Linked DNA regions of Homo sapiens: region 2 is linked to region 1. The links are contacts of gene promoters, found by promoter capture Hi-C in human tissues and cell types (Jung and others, 2019). All regions are on one chromosome and are shown on one strand. Each heading gives the region's core, a stretch centred on a gene start or on the middle of the fragment in contact. The rest is flanking DNA. Distances are from core to core; before and after follow the strand shown. Region 1 holds the start of ZAP70 (zeta chain of T cell receptor associated protein kinase 70). Region 2 overlaps TSGA10 (testis specific 10).

Region 1 (3,557 bases), core at 308-2,807:
GCATACAGGAACTGTGGAGTCCAGAGCCCGAGGCCACCCAGAGCTAGTGAGGATAATGAGGGTTTTAGTGAGACCTTTCTGCAGCACCTGTATGTGCCGGGCAGTGTGGATACAGTCACTCTCTTTATCCTCCCGAGAGCCCTGGGAGGGAAGCACAGAGAGATGCGGTGACTGGTCCAGTCACACAGCTGGTGAGTGGCAGAGCCAGAATGTGAAGCCAGGCCCCCAGGCTCCAGAGTGTGCACATCAACACCACCCCCGCAACACTGCCAGGGCAGTGGGGCTGAGGATGGAGGGCAGGTGTGAAGAGGAAAAGGAAGCTCTGGATTCAGCAGGAGGCAGCTTCACAGGTGGCACCTTAGGAGTCCCTGACCCTGATCTCTCAGCAAGGCATTATTAAACACCTCCTGTCTGCCTACTGTTCCAACCAAGACGAGAGTAATGAATCATCTCGAGCTGCTCACCTCATGAACTCCTGTTCCTTCCTGTCGGGGATGCTTCCTACCTGGGACACATTTCCCAGCCTCTCGCCAACAGTCAGGAACCAGGCGCCTGCCAGGTGCCCATATCTGCATGTGCATTTAACAGATGCACAAACTGAGGTCAGAGAGGCCAAGCAACTTGCCGAGAACACACAGCAGTTGAGGAGAACTCGGTGTTTTGCTCTTTCTCTCTCCAGGTCTTCCTCTAACCTGAGCTCGCCTACAAGTGGCTCAAGCCTGCCCTGGACTCCTCACAGGAATCACAGCATTCTGCTGATGGAGCTCACGGCCCTGGTGAGCAGCCCCCTCATCTTCACAGAGTGCACATGCGCTTTCTCTGGAGGTTTCTCTGCCTCCGAGAGCCAAGGATGCAGCCAAACAGGGCCCAGCAGGAGCCCAGGGACTGAGCAGGCCTCACCGTGTCCCCTGAACAGCCCCGCTCGGCCAAGCCTCTGGAGGGGGAGCTGCTTCCCTCAGCGTGGCCACAAGCCCCGTCTGCCTCCATCTCCAGCCAGTCACCACCCAGCCCAGTCCTCCAGCTCTCCTGGTCCTCCCAGCAACCTCCTGACTCCCAGTTAATATTCTGTCTTCCTCCTCCAGACACAGCCCACCATGGAGACGGTGGCCAGGTGCCACTCCACCCAGGCACCACTTACCTGGGGACGTACAGGTGGATGTCCAGGCAAACAGGCCACTTGCGGGGTCTCTGGTCCCAATGCCAATGGAGAGCCGGTTCTGGGTGAGGAATCGGGGCTTACAAAGCCGGTTTGGATTTCCCTGCAGCCCAAGCCCCCAGCCTGAGAGGGAGGCCCTGCCGCTCACACTCTCCGCACACACCCCGGGGGAGGATGTCACACCCCGCCAGGGTTTCTCACTCATGGATGGGGGGGGTTCATCCTCTGCCAGGTCTCCCAGAGCCCCCTGGGGTGGCCCTGGTGGCAGGACACAGGCAGAAGGCCCGAGGACAGCCGCTTACCTGAATGCCCCAGCAGCAGCTCTGAGGCCCACGGTGGGCCAGGCCTGCCCGGAAGGCCTGGTGTCTGCTGAGCTCCGGCAAGCAGGCTTGTCTGAAACTAACCTATTTCCTGGATGCGAAGACAGGAAAGGGGGCTGTGTTTGATGTTTACATCAAAGTCACAAAGTGCTGTGCTCAAGGAAAATCACAGGCCACGTGCTCCAGGGAGGCAGAGGGCATTTCCGGGGCCCAGCACTGCCTGCCCAGCTGCAGGATGGGACTGAGAGATGGGAATGAGGCTAAGCAAAGGCAGGGTTTCAGGAAGGACGACTCCAGCAGCAGGAACCGTCAGAAGGGAGGAAGCCTGCATACCTGGAACCGGAGGGTAGGCAGCAGTGGTGGGAAGGAGGGGAGTCCCAGGGCTCATGGAAACTGGAATGCCCCCATTTTCCCCTCAAAGGGGCGTCGCCCTGGGGCCTGCACCAGCTAGACAACCCAGAGGAGTGATTTGTTTATTCCACAGGCAGGTTAGAGCTGGAGGGAGGAGAAACCCACTGAGTCAGCCCATACCCCGAAGGTGAGAACCCCTTCTGTGCCAGGCATCTGGATGGCAAGGACAGCCTGCCCTTGCTCTCCAGTGGCTCGCAGGCTTGTTGGGGGCAGCTGAGTCCACAGGGAGCCAGGGCTGGGAGGCCGGAAGCCTGGGCACTGTGTGTCCCCAGAGTATCCCCAAGCCAGCCTGGAGGATGTCAGGGATGCGTTCCAGGAGGAGTCAGCCACCCAACCGAGACACAGAGCCAGGGCATCCCCAGTGCTAGCCCGGCCCACCTGGGACCTTTCCCACGAAGCTGAACCTGGCTGAGTGCCATCCCGCTGTGGCCACCACCTCCTCCTCCTCTTCCTCTCCTCCCTTCCCTCACCCTGTGCACCCCCTACCCTTGGGCCTGGGGCCACACCTCATGCACTCTCTCAGAGAGGGGCCTGCAGAGCCACTCCCTCGGCTCCATCTCCCCTCTAGTGCCCCAAGGCCTCTGGGAGCCCCTTGCCCACCACCTCCTTGCTTTCTTGGGCACTAAGGGAGTCGTCACAGCTCTCCTGTCTGTGGGGCCTCAGAGACCTGTGTGGAACTGCCCTGGGCCCACTGTGGAGACTCCTAAAGCTTTTCTTCTTGGGGTCCTGCTGCCCTTGTTAAGTGGGCTTGTGATACCCTACCTTGTTTTAACCTGAATTGACTCTCCCTTAGCTAAGAGAGCCAGACAGACTCCATCTTGGCTCTTTCATTTGCAGCCCCTTACCCACCCCGCTTCCTCAAGGACTTAATTTGTGCAAGCTGACTCCCAGCACATCCAAGAATGCAATTAACTGATAAGATACTGTGGCAAGCTATATCCGCAGTTCCCAGGAATTCGCCCGGTTAATAGCACCCAGAGCCCCGGCGTTTGTGTCCGGTTGATAACGCCCAAAGCCCCGTGTCTATCACCTTGTGATAGATTTTAAGCCCCTGCACCTGGAACTGTTTGCTTTCCCGTAACCATTTATCCTTTTAACTTTTTGCCTGCTTTACTTCTGTAAGATTGTTTTAGACCCCCACCTGTCCTTTCTAAACCAAAGTATAAAAGAAAATCAAGCCCCTTCTTTGGGGCTGAGAGAATTTTGAGCACTAGCTGTCTCTCAGTCGCCAGCTAATAAAGGACCCCTGAATTCGTCTCAAAGTGCGGCGTTTCTCTGTAACTCGCTCGGTTACAACAGGCTCAGCTCCCCAGTCTGCCTGAGGATCCCCTCACACCCTACCCCGAAGCCTCCTTGGGGACCTCCTTTCTGGCCCTCTACTATCCTCTGGCCGCCTGAATCCCCTTTAGAAAATCTGAGTTCCGGCTCTAGGCTACTTTTCTCCTTCATACAGCCCCCTCCAAAATGGTGTTTGCTAGCAGCCTCCCTTTTCCCCAGCGGCATCTTGAAACTCCAGGTGCAGCAAGCATCCCTTCACATCCATGCTGGACGCTCATTTCTTGGAGTATTGAGAGAAAAAGACACCGGCACCCTGAAGAGAGGAGAAATTACAGCATCAAATCACATTCATACTACAATAATGAGAGTCGCACTGATTATGTGCCAGACAT
Region 2 (3,557 bases), core at 745-3,244, 1.4 Mb before region 1:
ACCCAGAAATCCTGGAAAAGAAAGATATCTAACTGCTTTTTAAAAATTACTGATATATAATTTTTTAAATGTTGTATTTAAAAAATACCAAATTAAATGTTTTTAAGGATCCTGTTTGTTTTCAATTTCACTTAGAAAATGATGCTATAGTTTAGCTTGAAATAATGGTCTAATTTTTTCCTCTTTGGCAAGATAATTTTAGATACTGAAAAAGCACAAAATAAATCTCCTTCTAGACTTGATTCCTTTGTCAAGACTTTGGAAGCAGACAAAGATCACTATAAGAGTGAAGCTCAACATTTGAGAAAGATGATGCGAAGTAGGTCTAAAAGTCCAAGACGCCCATCACCAACTGCCCGGGTAGGTTTTATAAACTTACAAATATTTTGGAGTTTGTTGCCCAGACACTGGCTTTTATTCTTTGTTTTACCTAATTTGAAAATAATTTGTTTTGATTTGCTGTGAATTGCTGTTTCAAAGGGGTTGAGAGACAGAGGTCTCTTTGATGGCACAGTAGACTACTGATATTGGTTCTTTATCCTCAGCATAATTAGCACTTGGGAGGTAATCAGGCAAATGTGGAATAATTTGGAATGAAGCTGTTTTAAAAAGATGTGGTTTTTAAACTTATTTTTTATAATTTCCTTTCATTATATAGTCTTATTTTCTTAAATAGAAATTGGGCACTACCATCAGTAGCACCTTTCTATCAGTACTATATATCAAAGAAGATTTCAAATTCCTTATATAATTATAGGGTGCAAACTGTGATGTAGAACTTTTGAAGACAACAACAAGAGATCGTGAAGAACTTAAATGCATGCTGGAAAAATATGAGCGCCATTTGGCAGAAATTCAGGGTAATGTCAAGGTTCTTAAATCTGAGAGAGACAAGATCTTCCTTCTTTATGAACAGGTAAACTTACAAAAAACAAATTATATAAGTAATAACATTGAGTTCTAGAGTTATGTAATTCTTCTTTGAGTTTTATGAGACTGCTTAAACCTGCAAATCAAGTTAATCTAACATTTGGGGATTACATATGTTTTTAAGATATTCTTAATGAAATGTAGTACATTTCCAATACAGTAGGTATGTGAGTACACACGTATGTTATCCCCATAGCCAAAAATCATACACATGTATAAAAATAGTCTTATTTTTGGAATAAGATATGAAGAAACCGTTAAATGATAAGTTGTTATGAGTTCAAGGTAAAAAGATCAAATCCTGACCTTTTTACCTTGAACTTGCCACACCTTATCACATCACTTTAGGAACTTTTATATAATTTGCTTAATTTTAGAGAATAAAAGAAGTATGTAGTTTATCTCTGCTTTCTAGCTTAGAATTGCATAGCTTTTATTAATCAAATACCTTCTTTAACCCAACAAGTATTAAATCCTATAAATCACCCATATAACTTCTTTTAAAAGTATCACAATTTTTTAACAAATTATAGCTACTATACACAGGGTTCTAGGCTCACTACTCTAAGGGATAGAAAAATGATAAGATGCTGACCATGTTTTCCTATAAATTTACAGTCTAGTTAGGGAGATAAAGTATATTGTATTTATTGATTTTTATTAAGTGGTCTAGAAGATATTATAAGAAACAAAAGAAGTGGGCATTTTTAGATATGGTGATCAAGGAAATCTTTATTAAAAGATACAAAGTGTGAGCCCTGAAAAATGAATGGAGTTTCTATTACCCTGAAAGGGGCTAGAAGGAACAATCCAAACTAAAGGAATGGTATGAGGCAAAGGATAAAGGTAGGAAAATCAGCAGATAAATAAATTGGTTTAAGACTAGAATAGAGGGTATGTGTCAGTGGAGAAGGGAGAGAGCTAAGACTTGAAAGGTAAGATTGCACTAGAGCAGGAATCAATATACTTTTTCTGTAAGGCCCAGACAAAAAATATCTTCTGCTTTGCAAGCCATGTGGTCTCTGTTGTAACTAATCAGCCCTATTGTTGTAGGGTGAAAGCAGCTTTGGACAATACATAAATGAATAACTTTGGCTGTATTACAGTAAAACTTTATGGATACTGAAATTTGAATTTCACATCATTTTTACTTGTTTTAAAATACTCTTTTGATATTTTCCCCAACCATTTAAAAATGCAAAAATATTTCTCCACTTACAGACCTACAGGAGGCAGGCTAGATGTGGCCTGTGAGTTATATATAGCTTGCTGACTTCTGGACTAAATGGTACAGGCTGTTCAATGGGCCTTATATGGGGTTTATATTTTGCTTCATAAGCAACAAACAATCTTTTTTTTTTAAAGGCAGGCAAAATATGAACAAAGTATCATTTTTACAATTTTACAATTTTAACCTTATGGCAAATTTTTATTTCTCACATAATCTTTCTATACTGTCTTCTTATTTAACAATTTCTCCTTTGAGAGAATTGATGGAGGGAGAGACCATGGACTCCTCTTTAGAAGGCTGTTACACTAGTGCACATATAAGGCATTAAGGGACTAAGCAAGGGTGTTTCAATGGAGATAAATATAGGGACAGATGCAAAAGACCCTGTGAAGGAAGATTTGACATGATTTGCTTTTAGGAAGAAGGAGGGTTGCATGACAGTGACTAAAATTCTGTCTTGAATGACTCAGCAATGTGGTAATAAAATAAAAAATAGGAGAGTCATTGGTGGTTTGAGGAAAAAGATGTGAGTTTGTTTTTAGACAGAGTAAGATAATGATAGCACACTCAGGTCGTAATTGCCATCAGACTGTAAGAAATGTGGGACTGGAGTAGAGAGAGGCAAGAGTTAAATAGTTAGCTTTGGAAGTCATCTGCTTAGAGGTGAGCTTCGAGCCTTCAGAGTGGATGAAGTCTCTGAATGAGAAAACTGTACATAGAGGAGCAGAAACGTTAAGTTATAATATTCAAGATGCAGAAGGGAACCTTTGAAAGAGACAAAGATGACAGACAGCTAGGGAGGAACAATGTTAAAAGGGAGGAAGGAATCTCAAGAAGAAGGATGTTGTGAGCAGCAACAGACCACTGAAATATCAAGGAGAACAGGAACTGAGAAAAGACCATTATATTTGGTTAGGTCTTTAGTTGAAATTCCACAGAAGGTGGGAGGGTGGGAGCCAGGTTGTTCTGGGGTGATAGAATGGATGGTAAGGAACCATTGGCAATAGTTATAGACCATGGGACTTTTTTTTTTTAATGTGTCGCAGGAAGAAGAGACATAGGATGGTAAATTGGTCAGCAGGATCAAGTGACAGGTTTTCAAGATAAGGGAGCACTGTACATGACTGAAGGCAGGGGAGAAAGTGCCAGTGGAGAGGGTACTATTCAAGATGAGAAGAAATAATTATAATTGAGTCAGGGAGATCTTAGAAGACACTTTAGGAGATGAGGTTTGGGGTTCTGGTGAAGGCTTAGCTGTGGAAATTGGGAAGTTATATATTTTCCTTTGGGGCTTGGAGACTATCTGAATAGACAGTGATCAAAATCAAGAGGAAAAGAGACCTGTGCAGCGAACTGTGATATTAAATAATCTGCAGGTTTGGAATAGATTTGGGAC

What was found. Contacts are between HindIII fragments. The study calls those that stand out against the background at their distance.
Region 2: a contact is called between a fragment that was not itself captured here and the fragment with the promoter of ZAP70 in region 1, in 1 of the 25 tissues and cell types used here (dorsolateral prefrontal cortex).

What each region holds. Positions count from the first base shown.
Region 1 is chr2:97,711,576-97,715,132 of GRCh38, reverse strand. It overlaps ZAP70 (zeta chain of T cell receptor associated protein kinase 70), which reads right to left and starts at 1,557. Exons shown (of 14, transcript NM_001079.4): 1 at 1,459-1,557; 2 at 1,139-1,217. RefSeq lists an enhancer at 776-1,749. The HindIII fragment of the contact is 22,881 bases long and covers 1-3,557 here.
Region 2 is chr2:99,106,192-99,109,748 of GRCh38, reverse strand. TSGA10 (testis specific 10) reads left to right here. Exons shown (of 21, transcript NM_025244.4): 6 at 237-360; 7 at 758-916. The coding sequence starts at 310. Among named protein-coding and RNA genes, the nearest start is that of C2orf15, 34 kb to the left of the region's middle. The HindIII fragment of the contact is 7,771 bases long and covers 1-3,557 here.